7 separate regions of the Homo sapiens genome follow, and all the other regions are linked to region 1. Evidence: promoter capture Hi-C in 16 types of primary human blood cells and fetal thymus (Javierre and others, 2016). All regions are on one chromosome and are shown on one strand. The core of a region is centred on a gene start or on the middle of the fragment in contact, and the rest is flanking DNA. Distances in the headings are between cores, read along the strand shown. Region 1 holds the start of MARCHF6 (membrane associated ring-CH-type finger 6). Region 2 overlaps CTD-2154B17.1 (a long non-coding RNA gene). Region 3 overlaps DAP (death associated protein). Region 4 overlaps DAP (death associated protein). Region 5 overlaps DAP (death associated protein). Region 6 overlaps ANKRD33B (ankyrin repeat domain 33B). Region 7 overlaps ANKRD33B (ankyrin repeat domain 33B).

Region 1 (3,571 bases), core at 802-3,301:
AGAGAGAGTTGCAGAGCTGAGCCATAGGGGCAGAGGCATTCTCGTTCTAGTAGTCCCAGCAGTCCCTCCCCTTCTTGGAGTCTGTCCATATCAACAGTACATTCCTCCCTTCTGCCTAACAGTTGAGTTCCTGTCAATGGCAACCAAGAGAGGTGTGACTGATTCATGTATTCAAAGGGCTGTTGTGAGAACTTGTGCCTGACTCACAGTGGGGACTCAACAAATGTTGGTTTATTACTCTTATATTTAACGCCTAAAGTCTGAATGCGAAAAGGTTAGGGCAATTCCAGAAGGAATTACTATGCAGAAGGGAAAACTGGTTGACAGGTTAACTTTCCTTTGAACATCACAAGGGAAGGCACCTAAATACAAAAGGAAGGCTTCCTCCACGCCCCCCATACACACACATTCCCTTCATCCTAACCTGGCTCTGCAGCTCCGAGGGTCACATACCTGCCCTTGGCACTACTAGTACTTCCTCCAGCAAGTCTCAGTCTTTCTTTCAGAATCCTTCGCCCTTATGCCATGTAACATCTGATCGGCCCGGTCTTTGCCCCTAGTATCAGCAGGCCAATACGTGCTCTGCTACAGGTCTTACAGGGAGGGTGAGCTCTTGGAGTTGGATCAGAAGGAGAGGGGCTGGGGAAAGATCGTCTTCAAATTGTTTCTTTGGCGGTAGTATATATAAACATATTTAGGCAGGGCATAGTGGCACATGTCTGTAACCCCAGCACTTTGGGAGGCCGAAGCGTGAGGATCGCTTAAAGACAGGAGTTGAAAATCATACTGGTCAATATAGTGAGATTGCAGTGAGCCATTATCGCGCCACTGCATTCCTGCCTGGGTGACAGTGCGAGACCCCTTCTCAAAAAAAAAAAAAAAAAAAGAAAGAAAAAAATCATAAGCAAACAACAACAAAAAAACAAATATAAAGAATGGCGGTCTGCTTAATTCTCCGTGCCAGCCCTTGAAATCAGTGGGTATTATTATGTAGAGTTTGAGTTCTTTCCTCCCTTGAGTAACATGAGTGACATCAGTAACATTAGTCAAGCGCTGCTCTTTTTGAAAGACTGTATTTCATTATTTTTATTCTAAACCTTACTCTGTTTGATGAAGATTGGGGGAAGAGCCCTCCCAATTCCACCGCTCACACATAACAGCGGTTGCTAGCATTCTTTATTTGTGCTAGGTCATCTGCATATTGTTTAAACATTTTTCGAGGCTGGAAAGACTGCTCCCACTCAGGCAATTCTGACGTGGCGGCCCTTCTAATTTATATTCTCTAAATAATTCTTCATTTAGAGAAAACAGTCAGGGATTACAGTGAGGGAGGGTGACGTGCTGACGGGGACAGAGCTTGGCTTTTGATCATTCTCCCCTTAGCTCTGCCCAGGCAAGCGTCCCTAACTCAGGGTATCGGAACCGATCTCCCTTAGAGGATTATGTTTCAACCACCAGCCTCAGCGGTTTACTCAAATGTCCTTCCAGCCAAATGCAGAAGTCTCCCTGGGAGTAATTTTGGTGAAGTCAGCTTTTGCCTTTTTCATCACAGGCAGGCTTTAGTAGTTCCTCAAAACGTGCACCACAACTGCCCGGCTGCCAAACAGAAATGCTGATGCCTGGGCCCACTCTAGCCATTTGGCCTCGGCATCACGGTGCGGGAGCGTGGGGCGCAGACTCGCATTGTCACAGGAACCTCCCGGCCTTCCGAAGAGCCCCGCGCCGGGGCCTTTGTCTCGCACGTCGGCTGGGGCGGGAGCTAGGTTCTCGCAGCCTCCTCCCACCGCTCTGCGCCTTCTTTGTCCCTCCAGAAGCCGCCATCAAAGCTCAGCTCCTGATTAGGTTTCGGCCCCGCTGGCCGGCGCAGTCTCGGCGACTACCCCAGGCGGCCTGGCGCACGCGAGGATTCGCCGCGCCCCAGATGCAGGTGCCTCCCCTCCTTAGCCGCCGACCGACAGTGCACGCCGCGGCCGCCGGAAGTGACAGCGCCTGTCGTTGGGGAGCTCCCGCCCCTTCCGCCTCGGCGCCCCGCCCAGGCCTCGCCCCTAGGTGTTCCCGCCCCTCCCCCTCCCGTGTCGCTCGCTTTCTGTCAGCCTCTCTCCCTCTCCCTCTCCCCTCTCCTTCCTCTCGCTTCCTCTCTCGCACCTGAGCGTACGCACCTGCCCGGGCCCGGCTCCCTCCTCCTCTCCCCTCCCTCTTTCCCCGCCCGGCCGCGGGAGCCTCGTGGCTGCGTCACCGCCGCCCCCCCAGACAAGATGGACACCGCGGAGGAAGGTAAGTCGGCGACGCGCGGCGCCCGAGCCCTTGCGTCGGCGCCCGGGTTCGTACCCCGGCCAGGTCCGCGGCGCTCGAGGTGGGCTGCTGGATCGCGGCGGGGCGGACGCCTGGGCCGTTTGTCCACCCGCTGGGCCTCTGGGCCGGGGAGCGGAAGGTGACCCTCTGCGCGCCCCCCGCCGTTTCCCGCCCGCGCCGCCGAGGGGGGCGGGGACCCTGCCGGGCAGGGGCCGGGGCCGGGGTCGGGGCCTCGGGGCTACTGCAGGCCGGCGTGGCCTCCCTTGTCCCCGCCGTCGCGCGCTGGCCCAGAAAAGGGGGCCTCTGTCGCTGCCGTCCGGGGGCGTTTTCCGCACCCTTCCCCCACTGGGTTTTGTCTTTCTTTACGTCCTTCTGCCTATTGCTCGCCAGGCCCTACCCCCTCGCGACAGAACTTCTTTGTTGACTTTGAAACTTCGCGAAAAATACCCCGCCAGATGACGGCCGAGTGGAGTGAGCTGACCCCTGTTGAAAAGCCTGGTCCTCGGCTTGCCTGCCGCTCGAGAATCTGTTTACTAAACGGGGAGGCTCTTTTGTTGCGATCCATTTGGTTTTAAATCCTTGACACCTATAAGCAGGGTTCTGTTTGTTTTGTTTTGCGATTGCTTGTGTTTTGGATACGGTTACATTGAACAAACTGACCCTTGTAAAATGAATACTTAAGATATAAACGTCCACACCTTATGTCTCTTCAAACGCATTTTCTTACCCACTGAAGGTAGTAGATTATTTTTAACCAGCTGTGTTTTTAAATGAGTGGTGAGTTTATAGAGGAAATTACTAAATTTTGCTTTTTTTGATGTTCCGGTTATCGTGCAAATGCTTTTCTACTTTAGGTATATTTATGGGGGTATGAGCGTCTTTCAACCTTATGGGTTGCGATTTTGGCGATTTTAAACGAAAATGAATTATCAAACGCCGTCATGGAGTGCAATAATGAGTGAAAAAAGTTTGATATTATCTATGTAATGAGTTGATAACGACTTATTTTTTTTTAAAGAAGTCTTGCCTTTAATAAATACCTCAACTATAACATGTGGCACTTGATGTACATTCGCGTTCCATCTTCGTAAAAAGCCTGTGGAATAGGTAGGTATTATCTTTTATAGATGTGGAAATGTAGGCTTCGTTATTTTAATAGCTTGTCGAAGCTTTACACAGGTAGTAAGAGGCAGATTTGAACCTAGGCATTCTGATTGCAAGTAATTTCCCTTTCATTATGCCACAGTGTGTTTATTATATACACTGAGTGTAGCTAATC
Region 2 (3,571 bases), core at 371-2,870, 420 kb after region 1:
ACTTGGATGGTGATTGCCAATACAACCTTTTAATATAATCTGCCCATATTTATGTTGAAGCGTTTTATACACGTGGTACTTTAACGCTGTGTCAGAAATAATAATGTTCTAGCTGTACTGTACCATTATCGCTAATTGTAATTTTATTCTCAACTAGAGTACCTTTGAGTATTGTTTACTACAGGGTTGGTAAACAGTAGTCTGCAAGGCAGGTCTGACCTGGTGCCTGTTTGTGTAAAGTTTTATTGGAACACAGTCATGCCCATTTCTTTACATATTGTTCATTGCTGCTTTTTGGCTACAATGGCGGGGTTGAGGAGTCGTGGCAGACACATTTGGCCCCCAAAGTACAATAAATTGACTCTAGCCCTTTGCAGAAGGTTTGCCATCCCCTGCTCTGCTGCATCACTTCACACACCAACAAAGGCAGCAGCTCAAGGTTAGGCATAGACATTTGTAGACACAAAATCAGATCACAAATGCCTTCCTTCACATTTTAGCTCACATGCAGGTATCAGCAAAGAAGAGGAAACAAAGTGCTTTGTACTCAGAAAGTATTTCAGATAATGAATCACTTTATGATTTTCCATGATTTATTTTTAACTCTTACTTTTCCAATTATTTATTTATTTATTTATTTATGAAATGGAGTCTCACTGTGTCACCCAGGCTGGAGTGCTGTGGTGCGATCTCGCCTCACTGCAGCCTCCTCCTCCCGGGTTCATGCCATTCTCCTGCCTCAGCCTCCCGAGTAGCTGGGACTGCAGGCACTCGCCATCACGCTCGACTAATTTTTTGTATTTTTAGTAGAGACAGGGTTTCACCGTGTTAGCCAGGATGGTCTTGATCTCCTGACCTCATGATCCGCCTGCCTCGGCCTCCCAAAGTGCTGGGATTACAGGCGTGAGCCACCGCACCTGGCCAAGTATTTTAAGGCTTCTATTCAAAACTAAAACGAACTGTTAGAAAAAATGTAATATCTGAAATATATCATTCTGAATATATTTTTGTAAATATCTAATCACAAATGGTCATTTTTTAATGGAATAGTAAAGGCCAGACTTGATCTAACACCAGCAACAGTAAACAAGTGGGAGAAAAACAAACATCTCTCCATGAATCCAATTGCGTGAGTGCCCTTGTTCACTACAGAGTGCTTTTCTTGATGATGAAATAAGAATGTCTACCTTTAGAACAATTGTCATTCAGTGGGAGGTATGGAGTCAGCCTGGAGCACCTCTAAAAATAAAAAAATTATGAAATTCAGAAACTTATAAAATTCAAACATATTCCCTTTTCCTAGCAGGCAGTAAAATGACAGCCGTGTGAAACTCATGATTACAGTTAAGAAAGGAATAGAACAGAGGTCCCATTTGATCACTGTTGGGGTTAGACCTATTAGAAGATGCATGCTCTGGAAAAAGAAGCCAATGACGAGAGCAAAAGGGCCGAGCAGCCAGGGTTGTTGCTGTTTATGTCTTTGTTGACCTATCCATCCATAATCATATATTTTGAGCACCAGCTTTGCACGAGGCATCACCTTAGAGGTAAAAAAGAAAAAAATGAAATAAAAATAAGTCTTCCTCTAGCCTTATCATAGTTCTGCGAGGTCTTGGGTCTTTGGGGAGAACAGAGAGACCCCAGCCCCAGTGTTCACATCGCTTTGCCAATGCCCACACTTATGTGGGTATCTATCTGCAGCTCCATCATGCCCTGGAATGGCTCTAAGACATGCTTCTGTGCTTCTTGCTGCAGCTCCTCCCAGTGGCCAACAGCAATGATCTGTCCCCTGTCTAGGGGCTCCCATATACCCACTCTCCACCTGCCAGCAGAGCCCAGTCTGCACCCTCAGGTGGAGGGACAAACACAAGATGGGCCTGAGACGGGCTGGCTGAGCCTGAATCCAGCATTCTACCTTGATGAATCTCCTACTCTCTTGGCTTTCGATTCCCCCAGGGTAGAGCAAGGGGCTGTGTTCAGAGATGGATGGCTCCTCCAGCTTTAACCTGTTGAGTCTGCACAGGGAGCCATCTCCTGGTTGCAACCAAGTCAGGGCATGGAGTGGAGCAAGAGTTAGAGGCCCCACAGCAGGAGTGGACTCCACACCAAGATCCTCAGCTTAGCCTGGGAAGTTTGGATTTCTTTGGTTACGTTTAAGACACAAAACTGATTGAAGAGAGATTCACAATAGAGATTATGGAAACTAGCAAATAAACGGAAACATTGCTTCCGGCCCGTGAGTGGCAGGTTAGAGATTTAGCTGGGAACCTGGAACTTTGTCTTCCAATTCTGCTTCTGCCACTTGCTGGCTGTAAGATTTGGGGCAAGTTACTTCACCTATTCATACCTCAGTTTCTTCAAGAGTGAAATGGGAATATGAGGGGCCTGCCTCAGTGGGCCCTTGTTTAAAGAAGCTATTATGTTTAAAGACTATAGAACAACACAGGCAAACTGTGAGCACATGTTAGGCTGGTGCAGCACAGCCTCAGGGAACAGAGAGAAGGCCAGGGCTCTGGCCCTCATCTCTAACCCTGAGTGGTGACTCAGGCTGCTGCCCCAATGGCCTAAACAGTAGCTGCAGAGGCCTGACAAAACCCAAAAGCTATACAAAGGCTCAGGTCTTGGAGATCAGTCTAGGTTTTCACTGGTGAGAAGGAAGAGGCCCTTCAGAAGATCCTAGAGAAGCCCCCAGGCTCTGACATCCACGGCCAGTCCACAAACTCTCTACCACTGCTAGGCAAACAGGCAGCAACGGCTCTCCCTCCTTCCTCATTCCCACCAGCCTCCCAGTCCAGGCGTCTTTTTCTCTTTAAAGGTTCCCAGATGTGAATTTGAAAGGTAAGGAAGGAGAGGCAGACAAGAGAAGGGAAAAGATGTGGTTGGAGTTGCCCCTGATACTCACATTCTTCTAGAAAGAACATTCCTCAGCCTCCCACTGTATGCAAGGCTCTGAGCAGCTGATCGTCCAGACTAGTGAAGGCCCAGCTCTGTTCTGATGGGCTGAGATGGAAGAGAAAGATGTGTTAGGCAGAAAGAGAAAATATGTGTGTGGCAGAGGACAGAGGCTGCTTCAGACAACTGCTTGCAGGAGCTACAGGGCATGTACGCACACACATGCACACATGTAGGTGTACATGCACATATATAGGTACACACATGCACACACATGGGCACACATAGGTGTACACCTGCACACATGCATGCACACAGTCACATGCATGAATGCACACATAAACACAGGCACACACACACAGGCCTTCCGCATACATAAATACACACACAGGTATACACACACTCAGGCAGAGCTACTTTCAGCTGCATGATGGTAGGCAGAGGCAGTGACAGTAGGAATGTCCAGCTTACTTATCTGCTGGTGAAGACCCAGATCAATTTCCCAGGTGGTGACTTTCTGTCCAACATTAGTCCCCTGTCTTCTAGGGTTTTAGGCATTGAGAAATTGACAGCCATGGGCCCTGGAGGTCTGTAATTGTTTAGCAATCAGCTCTCTGGGGGTCAGGGATATGGGGGAGAGCCCTGATTTGTAGAGTTTGCCCATTTCTGTGGTGTAAAC
Region 3 (3,571 bases), core at 399-2,898, 380 kb after region 1:
GATAAAAAGTACTTAAAAACTTCAGGCCTAGTCATTTTAATGTAATAAACTCAATAAGGGCTCTTACTTTCATGTGGTTATTATTACATATTTCATTCTATAAAATCCAAGCACTGGAGAGTTGATTTAAATTCAGTTCATATGTTTATGTAGTAAGAAAACACTCCTGATAAATAGTGCAACCTTTCAAGTCACACCATAAAAACAAAGGAGCCTCCGTTCCAAGAGGATGACTGCAGTGCAGACACACAGAGCAGAGCCTGGAAGGGAGAACTGATAGCCCCATTTCCTTTCTTCCCTCCTTCCATCAGATCAAAACAGTCCTGCCGGTGTAGATAGGAGTGTGGCAATCTTAGAAGGAGGCTGGGACCTGTGGAGGGAGAGAGAGCAGGAAGGGGCCATTCGGAAGCTCATAAATCACACCTGGTTTCCACATCCGTTATGTAGCCAGAGTTGTACAAATACTGTCTCAAAGCCTATTACCAGAAGCCACTGGCCCTAGAGGAAAGCCTGGCCGCCCGCACTTTCTTTCTTATCCCCAAATCTAAGGAGTTCAGCCAGGATCTCGGACATATGGGTACCCATATGCTGTGCCGCTCTGTGGCGAGGCTTTGATTCACTGCCTGCCAGCCTCAAGCCTTTCTCTGGCATCCACCTCCAGGACAGGAGGAATCAGGCTAGATTCACTGGGAATCCTGACAGTGCTATTACCCTGTGTTCCTAGGGCGACTCTGAGCAAAACTCCTTAAAATACTCACAGCGTCATTTCTACTGATCATGCTAAAATACACATATCCACAGGTGTTGGGAGAAATGTTTAATTTCTATTATATACAACAACAAAAGTGGTATTGGGCCATGATGAATTAATCCATGATTAAGGCAGTCCCATGTGCTTAAGAAGGCAATTATTTAGCTGGGAAAATGAGCTAAACATGAAGATATATTCTATTTACATTTATTTTTTATCTAAAGAAACAAAATGAATTAAGCTTTGCCACTATTTACTATGTGGCCCCCAGGCAGACTGTCCCTCACCGGCCTCCTGGTCCTGAGAGCTCCCAGGGAAGCCGTGGGGCCGCCACCCAAAGGCCTCCATGCCCTTCATCTGCTTTCAGTGTCTTGCAACATACCCATGACTCCATCTGGTTAACGGGGTAATGAGTTCAATTCTCTAGTATCATCCTCAATATATCCCAAGTGCCTCAAACTGTGCTCAGATGATGAATTTAGAGTGAATTTAAGCTAACTTTTACAAAATGGACAAGTAGCTTAAAAAAAATTCCTGAAAAAATAACCTCTGGAGGCCGAAGTTAATCTCAATACAAGCACAAGTGAACATAAGCAAAGGGAAGCGCTCCTGCCTGTCGTCATTGGTCTCCATGTTACAAATACCAACAACCTAGTCACATGTGACAAGAAGCAGCTCTCCCCAACAAAACCTGAAATTGCCTGGAAGCCCATTAGAAATTTAGATTTACATCCTGAATCATTAACGAGAAATCCCATCTCAAGGGTATCTGGACCTTGAGATGAGCTAATGATAGTACCAAGTCACTAGAAATAGCAAGACATTTAAAATACTGCTGATTTCATCTTTATCAAATATCTTACCATTCATTTTGTATATGTTTCATAACTTATATAGTGGTAATGCAGTGCACATGTATACTTTTAAAATGAATACTCATATGCTGGGGATGCATGCAGAAAACATTTTTCTTAATTGATGGAGTGTGTGATCAAATTTGGGGCCACACCACTGTACACAGCATGCCCTTGGTCAGGAAAATGGGCTGCTGCAGTGCTCAGCCTGAGCAACAGTAAACACTGGCATAGGGGAAGAGAGAATCATTTGCCATGTAAGCATCATAGTTAATAAATTATCGTGCTGTCATTGCTGTTGGAATGCCAACAGAGCCAGGTACTGCCAGCTGACGCCTAGTAGCACAAGGTGCTGCTTGCTTGTTGTGGGTTGAATTTACGTTTCCCCCAGAAACAGAGGTTGAGATCCTAGGCTCCAGTACTTAAGGGCATGACCTTATCTACAAACAGGGTTGTTGCAGATGTAATTAGTTAAGAAGAGGTCATACTGGAGAAGGGTAGGCCCCTAATGCAATAGGACAGGTGTCTTTATAAAAAGGGGAAGTTTGGTCACAGACAGGCACACAGGGAGAACGTCAGGCAAAGGCAGCAGAGTGAGGCTGCCACCAGCCAAGCACTATCAGAAGCTGCGAGACAGGCCTGCGACAGACCTTCCCCAGCGCCTGCAGAGGGAGTGTGGTCCTGCCAACACCTTGATCTCAAGCTTCTGGCCTCCACAACTGTGAGACGAAACATTTCTGTTTTTAAACCACCCAGTTTGTGCAACTGTGTTATGGGAGCACTAGGAAAACTAATGTGCTGCTTCTTGGTGGAGAGGCAGCCAGCCTGCCTGGAAGTTCTGCCCACTCTAACCTGGGTGGAGATGAGAATGGCTTTGTCCTAATGGCAGATCTCGAAGCTGCCATTAGGACAGCCTGCAGCCTCTGGAGAGGCTGCCAGACGCCAACCCTCCCTGGGCAGCCTCGCTTGCACAGATGTCATCCTGCATGGGGCTTCACACGCAGCGGATGCTGCCAGCAGACTCGGCTGCCGTCAGGGGGTTTGAGGGCTTGTGCTTGTTCTGTCAACTTTCTGCCGCCCAAGTTGCCACAGGCAAAACGCTTCCTTTTACCACTCCCTTGCTGGCACATAAACGGTGACACTTCAGCAATGCCCCATTTTGCCTACAAACTTGGTCTCTGAGTCTCAGTCTGACAAACCTGACAGGAAGAACTGCCCAACAGCAACGGGAATCTTCCTGATTCTCCTTCCCAGGGCAGATGGGCTATTTGTTACTATTTTATGCTGCCATGAAATCAGGCCTGCTTTTTATTCTGAGGGTCTTGCTGTACCTTCCTTACAGCTTCTCCCTGGAAGAGGCCTCTCAGTCCATAAGCAGTGACAACCAGTTACCCCCTCAAACAGACACTACATGTCACTCAGTGCCTGGGCCATGTTGCGGCTCTGCCTTTGGCCAGTGCAGGGCTCTGTGGCCCGTGGCACTCCAGCACCTGGGTCAGCTGCTGCTGGCAAGTGGTGGGCCCTGTCTGCCAGCACAGGGCACTCACAATATTGGAGCTGAGCCAGGTACGGTGGCTCACGCCTGTAATCCCAACACTTTGGGAGGCTGAGGCAGGCGATCACCTGAGGTCAGGAGTTTGAGAGCAGCCTGGCCAACATAGTGATATCCTGTCTCTACTAAAAATACAATAATTAGCTGGGCATGGTGGCATGTAGCCTGTAATCCCAGCTACTCGGGAGGCTGAGGCAGGAGAATCACTTGAACCTGGGAGGTAGAGCTTGCAGTGAGCTGAGATCACGCCACTGCACTCCAGCCTGGGCGACAGAGCAAGACTCTGTCTCAAAAAAAAAACAAAAACAAAAACAAAACAACAACAACAACAAAAAAAACTGGAGCTGAGAGCTGGCCGGTGCTCAGCATCCCTGGTCTACTGAAATCTCCACACACATGGTAGAGAACAGGGAC
Region 4 (3,571 bases), core at 608-3,107, 360 kb after region 1:
CACCACTCCACCCTTGGGGACATGGAGTAGAAGCCTGAGCTGCCGGGGGCTTCCTACAGCAAAATCTTCTGAGCTTGAGAAACGCAGGCAAACTGGCAATGTCTTGTGGGTCAATTACCAGGCAGTTCCTGAAGACCCAGCAAAGGTACTTTTGAAGAAGCTGCTGGGTCATTTCTAGGTACATAGCACCTCTCAGAAGCAAAAGAAAAATGCTAAGAAGAATTAACGCAGTTGTTAGGAAGTGAGTGAGTTAACTAAGGTCTCAAGGAAAACAGGGGTGAGTCTTCCGATGCCACGGAGAGAAAGGGCAGGCTGCTGTAGGCAGGGAGGCTGTTAGCCTCATTTATCATTCATGCCCCCTGGCCCTGGGAACTCACCATGGAATTCCAACAAGGAGCTGGCACTGAGGTATTTATTGCTTTCTTTGCATGTCAGCTTGTCACACGTAACAATTAATTTGATGATCCCAAATTGGACCTGACAGGAAACCTCTCGATAATACACCATGCCTAGATTTAGCAGAGATAAACACTGCTGTTAATTTCTCCAGCAGAGGATGTGAGTATCAACCCAGGGCTGCTTTCATTAATTTCCATCTCACACAATGTGGGCCCACCTCATATTGGCATTGCTCCCTTTAGCTGATAGCTGTGGCCAGTTTTAGAAGTGTGGTGTCCTAGGGTTGCCTGCCAATCATTTCCCATTTTCAAAGTGATGAGAACGTGACAGGGGACACAGACATTGAGCTCCATCGGTGAAGAAACAGCGGGCAGAATGAAGCTGGATAAGCCCTGAAACTGCTGGTAAGAAGATAAAATGCGACTAAGAGAAATTGTGCTTTCAATGAACTTTTCAGGAACACATCTATCGTGCAGAGTAAACTCCTTCGAAGTCTAGATATCTGTGGGTAGTAAGAAAAAATAATATTTTTTCTCTCCCTCCACCCCTATACTAACTGTGATGGTTAGTACTGAGTGTCAACTTGATTGGATTGAAGGATGCAATATTGATCCTGGTGTGTCTGTCTGTGAGGGTGTTGCCAAAGGAGATTAACATTTGAGTCAGTGGGCTGGAGAAGGCAGACTCACCCTTAATTGGGTGGGCACCATCTAATCAGCCATCAGCAAATATAAAGCAGGCAGAAAAACATGAAGCAAGAGACTAGCCTAGCCTCCCAGCCTACATCTTTCTCCCATGCTGGACGCTTCCTGCCCTCAAACATTGGACTCCAGGACTCCAAGTTCTTCAGTTTTGAGACTCGGACCTGGCTCTCCTGGCTCCTCAAGCTTGCAGACAGCCTATTCTGGGAACTTGTGATCGTGTAAGTTAATACTTAATAAACTCCCCTTTATATGTATGTATCTACCTATTAGTTCTGTCCCTCTAGGGAACTCTGAGGAATACAGATTTTGGTACCAGGAGTGGTTGTAGAGGAACAGAATATTAAGGATGGAGTTCTTTCATTGGTTTTGGGGTTTCTGGAGTTGGTTGCTTAATATGATTAGACCCCAAAATGCTAAGGACTCTGCTTCTAATAGTATGGAGAATACTGATAAGTCCTAGGCGGAAACTGTTTAGACTTATGCAAAATAAATGCATTTGGCACTCCTGATTCACCGCTTGTGAGAAGCAAGGAGTTCACTCACTCTATACATAATACCTTTGACCATATGTGGAGAACCAAGGAACATAATGCAGCTTGTTGGTTGCTCCCAAGTTCAGTGGACAAACTGATGAAAGAAAATGATGAACTCAGGGATTCTGTCTCCGGGCTTCAGAAGCAGATACTGAACCTCAAATCTGCTAAGATTGCCCTGAGTGAGAGTCTTACCTCCTGTAGAGAAAGAGCTGAAATTGTGGAAAAACAGACACAAGCCCTTATGATGTGAGTGGCTGACCTGAAACAAAAGGTTCGTGCACAGCCTCGCCAGGTGTCTACTGTTAAAGTGAGGGCATTGATTGGAAAAGAATGGGACCCTGCAACTTGGAATGGGGACATTTGGGAGGACCCTGATGAAGCTGGGCACACTGAGTTTGTAAACTCTGATGAACCATTTTTGCCAGAAGGAATTTCCCTATTCCCAGTAGTGGCAACATCCCCTTCCCGACCCATGCTGCCACCAGCCTTTGCACCTCTGTCTGAGGAGATAAACCCTGCGCTGCCTGAGGGAACAGTGATGACCTCTTCTGAGGCAGTTGCCAGGCAAGATAATGTTGATTCTCCTCAGAATCCACCCCAATACCTCTGTTTGCTAATTAGATACCAAGGTGGCAGGGGCCAAGTGGCAGCACTCGACCATCAAAGGCAAGGTGGGTGCAGCTACGACAATGAACGGCAGAGGCAATGAGGCAATCAGAATAGTCTGACTAGTGTAGAGCTATGGCATTGGCTAATTAATCACAGTGTTCCTAGAAGTGAAATTGATAGGAAGCTTACTGCATTCCTACTTAATTTATACAAGCGGAAAGCTTCTAGGTGAAATGGATAAAAGACTAATTTGAATTAGAAAAACAGAATCACGGCTCCTCAATCAATTTCCAGACTTGAGTCAGTTTACACACCCAGAACCCCTTGAATGAAGGGGAGGCTGGGTCCCCTTGAGGAAGGACCCTACTACATTACCAACAATTTATGCAACAAATCTTTCTCCCATCTTTCCCCAAGGTGACCTCTGGCTTTTTACCAGAGTAACTGTGGATTGGGGAAAGGGAAATGATCAGACATTTCAGGGACTACTGGACACTGGCTCTGAGCTGACGTTGATTCCAGGGGACTCAAAACATCATTGTGGTCCTCAGTTAAAGTAGGGGCTTATGAAGGTCATGTCATTAACGGAGCTTTAGCTCAGATCTGACTTACAGTGGGTCCAGCGGGTCCCTGGACTCATCCTGTGGTCAATCCCCCAGTGCCAGGCTGCATAATTGGCATAAACATACTTAGCAGGTGGCAGAACCCCAACATTGACTCCCTGACTAATGAGGTGAGGGCTATTATGGTGGGAAAGGCCAAATGGAAGCCATTAGAGTTGTCTCTATCTAGGAAAATAGTAAATCAAAAACAATATTGCATTCCTGGAGGGACTGCGGAGTCAGTGCCACCATCAAGGACTTGAAAGACGCAGGGGTGGTGACTCCCATGACATCCCTGTTCAACTCTCCCATTTGGCCTGTGCAGAAGACAGGTGGATCTTGGGGAATAACAGTGGATTATCATAAGCTTAACCTAGTGGTGACTCTAAGTGCAGCTGCTGTGCCAGATGTAGTTTCATTGCTTGAGCAAATTAACACATCTCCTGGTACCTGGTATGCAGCCATTGACTTGGCAAATGCCTTTTTCTCCATTTCTGTCCATAAGGCCCACCAGAAGCAATTTGCCTTCATCTGGCAAGACCAGCAATACACATTTACTGTCCTACCTCAGGGGTATATCAACTCTCTGGCTTTGTGTCATAATCTTATTCGGAGAGACCTTGATTGCTTTTTGCTTCTGCAAGATATCACACTGGTCCATTACATTGATGACCTTATGCTGATTGGATCCAGTGAGCAGGAAGTAGCAAACATATTGGAC
Region 5 (3,571 bases), core at 507-3,006, 330 kb after region 1:
GGAAGCTGCAGAAGAAAAGATGGAAACTAGCAGAGGTTGGTTCATGAGGTTTAAGGAAAGAAGCCATCTCCAGAAGATAAAAGTGCAAGGTGAAGCAGCAACTGCTGAGGAAGAAGCTGCAGCAAGTTCTCCAGAAGATCTAGCTAAGATCATTGATGAAAGTGGCCACACTAAACAACAGATTTTCAATGTTGACAAAACAGCCTTTTATTGGAAAAAGATGTCATCTAGGACTTACACAGCTAGAGAGGGAAGTCAATGACTGGTTTCAAAGCTTCCAAGGGCAGGCTGACTCTTAGTAGGGACTAATGCAGCTGATGACTTTAATTTGAAGCCAATGCTCATTTACCATTCCAAACATCCTAGGGCCCTTACGAATTACATAAAATCTACTCTGTCTGTGCTCTATACATGGGATGACAGAGCCTGGATGACGGCACATTGGTTTACATCAAGGTTTACTGCTTATTTTAAGCCCACTGTTGAGACCTACTGCTCAGAAAAAAAGATTCCTTTCAAAGTATTACTGCTGATTTATAATGCTCCTGGCCACCCAAGACCAAGTATACAAGGAGATTAATGTTGTTTTCATGTCTGCTAAAACAACATTCATTCTGCAACCCATGGATCAAGAAGTAATTTTGACTTTCAAGTCTTATTATTTAAGAAATAAGTAATTCCACTGGTAGATTTGGGCAAAGTAAATTGAAAACCTTCTGGAAAGAATTTACTACTATAGATGCCACTAAGAATACTCATGATTCATGGGAGGAGGTCAAAATATCAATATTAACAGGAGTTTGGAAGAAGCTGATTCCAACCCTCATGGGTAACTTTGAGGGGGTTCAAGACTTCACTGGAGGAACTAACTGCAGATGTGGTGAAAACAGCAAGAGAACTAGGATTAGAAGTGGAGCCTGAAGATGGAACTGAATGGCTGCAATCTTGTGATTAAAATCCTCAGGGATGAGGAGTTGCTTCTCATGGATGAGCAAAGAAAGTGATTTCTTGAGCTGGAATCTACACCTGGTGAAGATGCTGTAAACACTGAAAATAACAACAAAGGATATAGAATATTATATAAACTTAATTGATAAAGCAGTGGCAGGGTTTGAGATGACTGACTCCATTTTTGAAAGAAGTTCTACCATGGGTAAAATGCTATCAAACAACATTGTATGCTGCAGAGAAATCTTTCTTTCCTGAAAGGAAGAGTTGATCTATGTTCTATGTCACAAACTTCATTGTTGTCTTTTTTTTTTTTTTTTTTTTTTTACAGAGGGAGAGGGTCTCACTCTGTTGCCCAGGCTGGAGTACAGTGGTGTGATCTCTGCTCACTGCAACCTCTACCTCCCAGGTTCAAGTGATTCTCATGCCTCAGCCTCCAGAGTAGCTGGGATTACAGGCACACACCACCATGCCTGGCTAATTTTTGTATTTTTAGTAGAGACAGGGTTTTGTCACGTTTGCCAGGCTGGTCTCGAACTCCTGGCCTCAAGTGATCTACCCACCTTGACCTCCGAAAGTGCTAGGATTGCAGGCATGAGCCATCACACCTGGCCTGTTGTCTTATTTTAAGAAACTGCCACAGCCACTCCAACCTTCAGCAACCACCACCCCAATCAGTCAGCAGCCATCAACACTGAGGCAAGACCCTCTACCAACAAAAAGACTGAGCCTCACTGAAGGCTCAGATGATCATTAGCATACAGAATTTTTAAATTTTTAAAATTTTAAATTAAGTTATGCATTGTTTTTTAGACGTAATGCTACTGTACACTTAATAGGCTACAGTGGAGGGTAAACATAACTTTTATATGCACTGTGAAACCAAAAAGTTGTGGGACTCACTTTATCACAATATTTGCTTTATTATGGTGGCCTGGAGCAGACCCTGCAATATCTCTGAGGTCTGCCTGTACATATTCATTATTGAAACGCAGACAAGCAAAACAAGTTAAAATCACTTGTACTTCTGTATTACTGTACGTGTGTATTTATAAAGATTGACACACACACACAACTACTGTCCCATCACAACTGCTGAATGGCCATGGAGACTCTGGAGGCTAAAGGAGATCCCCAGCAATGAGGGTGGTCTACCCTGTGAGTACGCCACCCTTTGCAGAGGTGGAGTGGAACTCCAGGACGCAGAGGCGCCATCCAGCAGTAGGGCGCCAGCCTGGAGAGGCCTCCATGTTGGGTGTTCCTGACAGGCTCCTTGGTTGAGCCCAGCCCCACTGTGTAGTAGCTGCCACGTGAGGCTCTCGGGGGACCTGGCTATCAGGAATCTGTCTCCAGCACTGGTCCCCTGTGTGCACTGAGGACGGGAGTCTGGAGCCCAGGGGCCTGCCACAGTCCCGCCCTTCCTCCCTGCCCTCGGTGCTCCTCAGAGGTGCTGTCCTCTGGGCGTCTCCTGCATTGATCACGACAAGGGTGGGGTTCTATGCCTCGAGTATGTACCCGGAGAAATGTGTGTGAACAGTGATGATATGAGATCATGACAGCTCTGCTCTAGCCTGAGTGCTGGAAAACACACACGGAAGCTGAGGCCTAGAAACCAGCCTCTGACTCCCAGGGCACGCTCTTTCCTTTCCTAAACCCACATTTAGCACCTCACTCCCATGTGAGCTGCTCAAGACACTGTCCCATCGCAACTGCTGAATGGCCATGGAGACCCTGGGGGCTAAAGGAGACCCCCAGCAGTAAGAATGACCCTCCCCCCACAGGCCCAGCTCATTCCAGGAGTGTCCAGGGCCATGGTTGCAGGTTGCAGCGTCTAAGAGTCCACAGGAGTCATTCACAGATGGCGCTGTCCTTGTGAAACCCCAAATTCACGGAGATAGCTCCTTTGTGCTGAGTCATGACTGAATCTGCTGAGCTTTAGTGGCTTGGTGGATTCTGCTCATAAAGACAGAGGATGTCAATGAAAATCATGCTAGGCTCAGCATAAGAAATGTGCCTCTGCCAACCACTGGGTGGCGAGGGGTGAGGTGAGGCCCACCGGGTGTGGCGATGAGCCAGGGACTGGTGTCCTTTGTGCTGCATCCTATACAAAGTGGCTAGTCATTCTGCTGGATGTGGTGCTGGCGACTTGGCTGAGTGATGGCAAGACTGAGGGTCTGATGCCGCAGTCAAAGGGACTCACTCAGGATGGAAAGGCCGTGAACTTGCCCTTGTGCACACCCTGAGGGCTGACTCCGAGCTGAGGAGCAGGGACAGGGAATGTCACTCAGTGGCAAGCTTAGGTCAGAGCAGTCTCTTGGGGCACAACCAAAACAGTGTGCATTCCACCTAATTAACCTGGGGAAGAACAACATGAAGGCCTGAGACTTCATCCTGCACTGCTGTGCTCCAGCGCCCCCATCTGTTTGGCACTGGTAAGAAATAAGGCACTGAAAGAAAAGAACCCCATGTGTCCAGCACTTCCGCAGGCGAGGTCCTTGCTTTAAGACTGCACTTTTTACACAATATTCAAGAATTGTGTTGCATGAGAAAGTCTTATCGAGCCGCAAGAGGCGACTCGGCGGGAAGTGACAGGACACCAGACTGAGGGTCTCCTTTAGCTCTG
Region 6 (3,571 bases), core at 696-3,195, 290 kb after region 1:
CTTTGTTCCTTAGAATGTTTGTATTTTCTGAGATCATTTTGAAAAGATAGGTGAACATCAGGACGAAGAGTGCAAAACTTTGGACAGATCTTCCTCTGGTTTTCCATTAGCATTTGAAAAATGTCTCTTTCAGGCAGTGTTCATTAAGATTTTAATTTTATAGTTTGTTCCTTTTTTAAGTGACATGCAATTAATTAAGGTTTAATGTGTCATCTATTTTTTGCAATGACACTTTTACTGCCCCCTTTTCATTTTAGTCAGTTTATAAATTGTACTCTAGCTAATGAGTTCCATCCTGATATCCAGTTCCAAATAATTACCACTCTTCTAATATGGCTATTCTTTAATGTGTCACAGAACTAAGATCCTTACCAGGCAAGCTCAGGTGAGCTGGGTCTGCCAGAGCCATGAGGCCACTGTGGGCCAACAGGCCAGGGCAGTGGCTGGGGACCCGACCTTCCTCAGTTCAGCACACGTTGATCAGCCATCACATGTCAGACTCCTGGGTCTGCATGGGATATAAATGAAGAAGCGTCTGTCGGGTCCGGTCCCCTTTGAGCTCACAGACTAGATAATTGCCCTAGTTCTCCATGTTGCTTTGCTGGTGGAGATATGACTAATGGGACTTGAAATCCTCAATGATTTTTTTTTTTTTGAAATGGAGTCTTTCTCTGTTAATCAGGCTGGAGTGCGGTGGTGCGATCTCGGCTCACTGCAACCTCTGCCTCCCGGGTTGAAGCGATTCTCCTGCCTCAGCCTCCTGAGTAGTTGGGATTACAGGTGCCTGCCACCACGCCCAGCTAATTTTTTGTGTGTTTTTAGTAGAGGTGGGGTTTCACCATGTATTGGCCAGGTTGGTCCCAAACCCCTGACGTCAGGAGATCTGCCCTCCTCGGCCTCCAAAGTGCTAGGATTACAGGTGTGAGCCACTATGCCTGGCCCCTCAATGATTTTTAACAGTATGTGGGACTGAGATTGGACCAAGATTAATTGAACAGCAATTCCGTATTAATTTCTATACTACAACATTGAAATTTATGCAGATTTCATCAAGTTGAGTTGAAGTTTAACTTTGCAATATTTGGGGGCAGTGGGTGGACTGGGGAGATTTATTAAGGGAGTGACTAGTGTCAGGGAGACTGTGTAAGGGGACCTATCAGTCAACCAATAGGATGTGGATATCAAGAGATTTATTTTAAGGAATTGGCTGTGTGGTTTGGGGGGTTGGTGAGTCTGAAACTGGTGCGGTAGGCTCGAAGGCTGGAAACTCAGGCAGCAGTAAGTAGATGCCGCAGTCTTGAGGTGGAATTTCTTTGTTTCCAGGAAACCTTGGTCTTTGCTCTTAATGCCCTCAACTAATTGGGCGAGGCCCACCCGCATTATGAAGGGTAATCTCCTTGACTTAGAGTCAACTGATTATAGATGTTAACCACAGCTGCAAAATACCTTTGGGGCAACACTTAGATCCATGTTTGATTAAATCACTGGGTATTCTAGCCTAGCCAAGTTGACATAGAAAACTAAAACTGACCATCACACCAGGACTGCCAGGTGGTAGGAAGTACATTAGACTGAGGTTAGGACACCCAAGTCTTAGACCCTCTCTCTGTTACTAGCCCACAGCCACTGTGACTGCCATTCTTTTTGCAACAAGCCTTTTAAAAATTCATGCCCCCTACCCACCAGGATGAAACGTGTTGAGCAAACAAAAATGAATTTTTCTATCCTGGAAAAGCCCACCATCGGTTAAAGGTAGACAGACCCCAGCCAGCTAGGCCGCAGTGGGAGAAGCGAAGGAACCACCCATTTCCCACAGTCCAGGACCCATGGCAGTCCTCAAGAGTGAGACCACAGCTGGGGTGCCACCACTTTGCAAGTGACTGTTACTGGTCATATTTTTAGAACTTTCTAGCCACAGCATTCAAGTATGCAAGGCAGCTTTGTTGTCTGGTCATCTCTCCATTGATGGAAAGCTATAGGATCTTATTTCTTTAAAAAATTCTGTAATTTGGCCAGGCGCAGTGGCTCACGCCTGTAATCCCAGCACTTTGGGAGGCCGAGGCGGGTGGATCACCTGAGGTTGGGAGTTCGAGACTAGCCTGACCAACATGGAGAAACCCCCTCTCTACTAAAAATACAAAATTAGCCTGGCGTGGTAGCACATGCCTGTAATCCCAGCTACTCGGGAGGCTGAGGCAGGAGAGTCGCTTGAACCCGGGAGGCAGAGGTTGCGGTGAACGGAGATTGTGCCATTGCACTCCAGCCTGGGCAACAAGAGTGAAATTCTGTCTCGAAAAAAAAAATTCTGTAATTTAGGTGCTGAATTCAGGCGGGGTTTTATTCAGGACAGATAATCAATGGAGCACTTAAAAGGCAGGTTGGGCTGGGCACGGTGGCTCACGCCCGTAATCCCAGCACTTTGGAAGGCGGAGGTGGGAGGATTGCTTGAACCCAGCAGTTCGAAACCAGCCTGGGCCACATAGCCAGGCCCCATCTCTACAGAAAATTACCTGGGCGGTGGTGTAGCCCCAGCTACTCGGGAGGCTGACTTGGGGGGATGGCTTGAGCCCCGGAAGTCGAGGCTACAGTAGGACGTGTTCCCGCCACTGCACTCCAGGCCCGCCTTCCGGCGCTCAGATGAGCACAGGGTTCGCAGAGTGAACTAGGTGCAGTCTGTTAGGAGGCTTGGGGCCAGGGGTGGGGGGTGGGGGCAGTTTTGCCTTTGCCCCAGGCTCTGCCTGGGAGGGAAGAGTCCTTGTTGCCGCCACCCACTTCTGTTTGTGTTTTGCGTTTTGCAGGGGCGGATGTCCACGCGAGGGACCCCCGCCGTGGGATGTCGCCGCAGGAGTGGGCCACTTACACGGGCCGCGTGGATGCCGTCCGTCTCATGCAGAGGCTGCTGGAGCGCCCCTGCCCGGAGCAGTTCTGGGAGAAGTACCGGCCCGAGCTGCCGCCGCCCCCTGAAGCGGCGCGGAAGCCCGCGGGCTCCAAGAACTGCCTGCAGAGGCTCACAGACTGCGTGCTGTCCGTGCTGACGCCGCGCTCCGTGCGGGGCCCGGAGGACGGGGGCGTCCTGGACCACATGGTCCGGATGACCACGAGCCTCTACAGCCCCGCCGTGGCCATCGTGTGCCAGACCGTGTGCCCTGAGAGCCCTCCGAGCGTGGGGAAGAGGCGGCTGGCGGTGCAGGAGATCCTGGCGGCGCGGGCTGCACGGGGCCCCCAGGCGCAGGAGGAGGATGAGGTGGGGGGCGCGGGGCAGCGCGGGCGGACCGGACAGGAGGACGCGGACTCCCGGGAGGGCTCCCCGAGAGCCGGCCTCCCTCCCGCCCTGGGGTCCCGGGGCCCCGCAGCGCCCGCCCCGCGGAAGGCCAGCCTCCTGCCCCTGCAGCGCCTGCGGCGGAGAAGCGTGCGGCCCGGTGTGGTGGTGCCCCGGGTCCGAGTCAGCAAGGCGCCCGCGCCCACCTTCCAGCCCGAGCGGCCGGCGCGGAAGGGCAGCACCAAGGACAGCGGCCACCTGCAGATCCCCAAGTGGCGGTACAAGGAGGCCAAGGAGGAGAAGAGGAAGGCA
Region 7 (3,571 bases), core at 683-3,182, 270 kb after region 1:
TGTATTTTTTCTTTACTTCTTGTTTTCTTTCGTTCTTTCTTTCTTTTCTTTTTTTTTTTTTTTTTGAGTCTGAGTCTTGCTCTATCGCCCAGGCTGGGGTGCAGTGGCACAATCTCAGCTCTCTACAACCTCTGCTTCCCAGGTTCAAGCGATTCTCTTGCCTCAGCCTCCCGAGTAGCTGAGATTATAGGCGCCAGTCACCGTGCCCAGCTACTTCTTGTATTTTCAGCAGAGGCGGGGTTTCACCATGTAGGCCAGACTGGTTTTGAACTCCTGACCTCAAGTGATCCGCCCACCTTGGCCTCCCAAAGTGCTGGAATTACAGGCGTGAGCCGCCGGGCCTGGCCTTTTTTTTCTTTTTTACTGGCTTTTGTTATCTTCCCCTACTTACTGATTTGCTTGAGCTCTCTGTGGCCGCCACTGTGTGCACCCACCCTCTGGCCTGGGCTCTGATCCCTGGACACCCAACCTAGGCTGCTGCCTGAGGCTTTGGGACTGAATTGTTGAGGTTGCATACGGAGGCAGAGGGGAGAGGGACTTTACACCATTTAAACAAACACAGATTAAAAAGCTTCCTTGTGTGTGTCTTAATTGCCTCAATGTGCCGAAGAGATTTTCCCTAATTTCTTTCTGAACCTCCAGGGGCTGCCCCTGTCCCCATGGGCATAGTTTCCTTAGACACTGGCTCCCAATCTTGCGCCTCCGGCGTCAGCATCACCTGGGCTGGCTCATGTGAGCATTAACACAGATCTGGTGGAAACACAGACTGCCAGGCCCTGCCCCTGGAGTCTTTCTTTGAATAGGCCTGGGGTGGGGCCCAAGAATGAGCAGATCAACAGGTTTCCTGGTGAGGCTGATGCCACTGGCCCAGGGACCCCACATTGAGGATGGAGAGCTTTGAAGATTTTATGCCTGATGACGGCAAAGGACCCCTCTCAGTGGGCACTGAAGACCAGCAGAGTCACAGACCCCACGAGAGATGTTGTCAGACAGACACAGAGGCATCACGGAATTAAAGTGAAAATGAGGAAGGCAGGTGAGCATGTGTTCATGACTTTCCTGTGCTGTTTTGCCAAAGAGGCTGTTTAGGCCCAATCAGGTGATGTCCCATTTTAATCAATTTCATAACCAGTTTTATTTCTTTGATGATTTGTTAATTTCAAAAGCTGTCCATGCATATTTGCTTACAGCCAAAAATGACTACAAAAGTATTATCAGGGAGGAAGAAAAAGATCCCTTCTCTGTCTTCCAAATATTCCAGCTCCCTTATCAGCACTCAGGAGTCACCTCTTCAGACCTCATTCAGTCCTTTCCAAACACACACGTATGTATGTGCGCTTTGTATTCACATGACTGGGCTAGTGCTGTTGAGACTGTGTTTTTAGTGGTTTTGTTCACATGGTTATTAATCTAGAAGCTCCTGCTGTGTCGGTGTCCCTGAGCCCTGCCAGGCGCTCGTAGCCCTGCCTTCCTGCACGGGGATGTGTGGCTCATGCCCGGTTCCCCACCAAGACTTCAAATTTGAGAGGCTGCGTTATGACTGGCCTTCACTCACTGTGGTGGACCCGGCTCTTAGGCCAGTCCTTGAACATGAAGTACTTGCTTCTTAAATATTTGTTGGAAAAGAGGATATTGTGTAAAATGCATGAACCGTGGTATACTTAACTGTCCCAGTTACTGGACAGGTGGGCTTTTGAGTTAATCAACGGCAGCAAGGCTGTAGTGAAGTCTTTGGATCTGGGGTGCATCTCTGAGGACAGCGTGTTAGGATCCTGGCAGCTTGAAGCATGTTGAGTGACAGGTGGTCTCAGAGGGCTGAACAGAGGAGTTGATGAGGGCCTGTCAATTACGGGGGGAAGGGTAGAGTTAAGGGAACCAACATTGAAAGGATTAAGGGGAGGGACTCTGCAGAGAGTGACCCAGGCCAAGAAGCTGGAACCCGAGAGGCAGCCTCGGCCTAGAACCCGAGTGACACAGGCCAAGAAGCTGGAACCCGAGAGGCAGCCTCGGCCTAGAACCGCAGCCAGGGGCCGGAGTGGGAGGCAGGGCCAGATGTCCCGCTCCTTCCACCCTGGTCCCCTGCTGAGCCAACCCAGAAACCTCATTGGGGCGGAAACTGGGCAGGTGCTGTTGGTGCAGGTCAGCTTCCTAGGCCGAAAGCAGGGCAAGGAAGAGGAGAAGCAATGTGCAGACACACTCTTAGAACAGAATTGCTTCAGCAAGGGCTGTGCCTGTTTTAAGTGTATGCAGCTGCCAAGTGGTCTTTAGAAAGCTGTGGCGATTTCTCCTTTCCCCTGAGTGTCCAAGAGTGTTCTTGCAAGCCCTGGCTGAGATCAGTCTTTTCAGTATTTCCCTACTCAAATGAACCAAAACTCTGGTTTTCAGTTGTATTTCCCCAGCTCTCTTTTGAGCCTAGTACCTGTTAGGATGCTTTTGGCTTCAACCACAAGGACACTGCCTTCTCTTGCAACACAAGACATCTGCGGGCGATGTTGCAGGGTTGCTTCACTGAGTAGCTGGGTGATGCTGGGACCTAGAGCCACTTCTCAGAAATACATTCGCCTTTTCCTTCATGGTCCCAAGGTGGCCCCAGCTGCTAGAAGTGCCACGGCTTCACGTTGCAACACTCAGGGACATCAAGGAAGAGGAGCAAATCCCTGTCGGCGTTTCCCTTTATAAGACAGGAAAACATTTCCAGAAGGCTCCAGCAGAGTATCGTTGCCATCTCACCAACCAGGGTTGCGTCACAAGCCCGTGCCAAACCAGTGATGGAGGATGGCTTGTGTAGACAGCAGTCGCACTAAGCAGAATCAGCATTGTGAAGCGCAATCTTAAAGCAACCATATGTTTATATTATTTGCTATGGCAACTGGGTTGGTTGTCTGAGAGTTGGAAGCTCTGGGTTTCTGGAGGACACAGCATTTATGAGTACGAATTCGGATGCAAATGCCTTCATCTGCCTTTTGAGTGTTCTCTAAAAAGTCTAATTTCCTCGGCTATTTAATGCACAATAAAAATACAGCCAAATCTGTACTAGGTCTGTAAATGGAGAGAACGTTTGAAAATAAATCCCCATGTAATCCCTAAGTCTCATTTAGCCAGTCATTTCAACTTTCACCACCGCTCCACTAACAAAAATAAAATAAGATAACCAAAGAAAGGAACAAGAAGTCCCATGGATAGAGTTGTGTGTTTATTTCTGTTTCCTTGTTGTGCTTTAACAGAATAGCATGGACGTGGTAAAGTGAGGAAACGCCAGGGGTCTCTTTGAGCTGGTGATGGGATACAGCACGTGAAGCTTGTTTTGGGTATAAGGAACCTCTGATGTGTGCTTGCAACTTGTTATTTCTTGCATTTAATTGTAAAATTCTGAGGCTACGTGCTGAGAGCCAGCCTGGCAGGATGCTGCCCGGGGACGGGGACAGAACGGGAGGGATTCTCAGGGGCAGCTGTGGGTTTGGGCTGCGGGGGAGCCCTGGTTCCTGAGCTGAATCGGGGAGAGTCCCAGTTCAGAGGAGAATTTATGACTTGGTCAGAACCCAGGAACAATGCCTCTTCATGTTATTTATCT

The links. The method cuts DNA at HindIII sites, captures the fragments that hold promoters and counts their contacts. A CHiCAGO score of 5 or more calls a contact.
Region 2: a contact is called between a fragment that was not itself captured here and the fragment with the promoter of MARCHF6 in region 1, in 8 of 17 cell types (neutrophils, naive CD8 T cells, total CD4 T cells and 5 more). The highest score is 10.4, in neutrophils.
Region 3: a fragment that was not itself captured here is called in contact with the fragment with the promoter of MARCHF6 in region 1 in 4 of 17 cell types (total B cells, naive B cells, neutrophils and 1 more); the score reaches 14.4 in total B cells.
Region 4: a contact is called between a fragment that was not itself captured here and the fragment with the promoter of MARCHF6 in region 1, in 2 of 17 cell types (neutrophils and total B cells). The highest score is 7.5, in neutrophils.
Region 5: a contact is called between a fragment that was not itself captured here and the fragment with the promoter of MARCHF6 in region 1, in 1 of 17 cell types (neutrophils). The highest score is 6.1, in neutrophils.
Region 6: a fragment that was not itself captured here is called in contact with the fragment with the promoter of MARCHF6 in region 1 in 7 of 17 cell types (neutrophils, total B cells, monocytes and 4 more); the score reaches 23.6 in neutrophils.
Region 7: a fragment that was not itself captured here is called in contact with the fragment with the promoter of MARCHF6 in region 1 in 17 of 17 cell types (neutrophils, activated CD4 T cells, naive B cells and 14 more); the score reaches 34.4 in neutrophils.

Annotation. Positions count from the first base shown.
Region 1 is chr5:10,351,644-10,355,214 of GRCh38, forward strand. MARCHF6 (membrane associated ring-CH-type finger 6) reads left to right here and starts at 2,052. Exons shown (of 26, transcript NM_005885.4): 1 at 2,052-2,274. The coding sequence starts at 2,256. MARCHF6-DT (MARCHF6 divergent transcript) reads right to left here and starts at 2,414. Exons shown (of 3, transcript NR_183261.1): 1 at 2,329-2,414; 2 at 1-130. RefSeq lists enhancers at 1,611-1,870, 2,717-3,288 and silencers at 2,011-2,150, 2,191-2,660. The HindIII fragment of the contact is 4,878 bases long and covers 1-3,459 here.
Region 2 is chr5:10,774,062-10,777,632 of GRCh38, forward strand. It overlaps CTD-2154B17.1 (a long non-coding RNA gene), which reads right to left. Exons shown (of 4, transcript NR_188230.1): 3 at 2,903-3,000; 4 at 580-1,239. Among named protein-coding and RNA genes, the nearest start is that of CTD-2154B17.1, 11 kb to the right of the region's middle. The HindIII fragment of the contact is 6,699 bases long and covers 1-3,571 here.
Region 3 is chr5:10,733,899-10,737,469 of GRCh38, forward strand. The region is part of intron 2 of DAP (death associated protein); the gene reads right to left. Among named protein-coding and RNA genes, the nearest start is that of DAP-DT, 25 kb to the right of the region's middle. RefSeq lists an enhancer at 2,310-2,459. The HindIII fragment of the contact is 1,316 bases long and covers 991-2,306 here.
Region 4 is chr5:10,715,428-10,718,998 of GRCh38, forward strand. The region is part of intron 2 of DAP (death associated protein); the gene reads right to left. Among named protein-coding and RNA genes, the nearest start is that of DAP-DT, 44 kb to the right of the region's middle. The HindIII fragment of the contact is 1,146 bases long and covers 1,285-2,430 here.
Region 5 is chr5:10,686,654-10,690,224 of GRCh38, forward strand. The region is part of intron 2 of DAP (death associated protein); the gene reads right to left. Among named protein-coding and RNA genes, the nearest start is that of DAP-DT, 73 kb to the right of the region's middle. The HindIII fragment of the contact is 2,969 bases long and covers 273-3,241 here.
Region 6 is chr5:10,646,468-10,650,038 of GRCh38, forward strand. ANKRD33B (ankyrin repeat domain 33B) reads left to right here. Exons shown (of 4, transcript NM_001164440.2): 4 at 2,799-3,571. Among named protein-coding and RNA genes, the nearest start is that of ANKRD33B, 84 kb to the left of the region's middle. The HindIII fragment of the contact is 8,941 bases long and covers 1-3,571 here.
Region 7 is chr5:10,624,083-10,627,653 of GRCh38, forward strand. The region is part of intron 2 of ANKRD33B (ankyrin repeat domain 33B); the gene reads left to right. Among named protein-coding and RNA genes, the nearest start is that of ANKRD33B, 62 kb to the left of the region's middle. RefSeq lists an enhancer at 3,512-3,571. The HindIII fragment of the contact is 2,727 bases long and covers 570-3,296 here.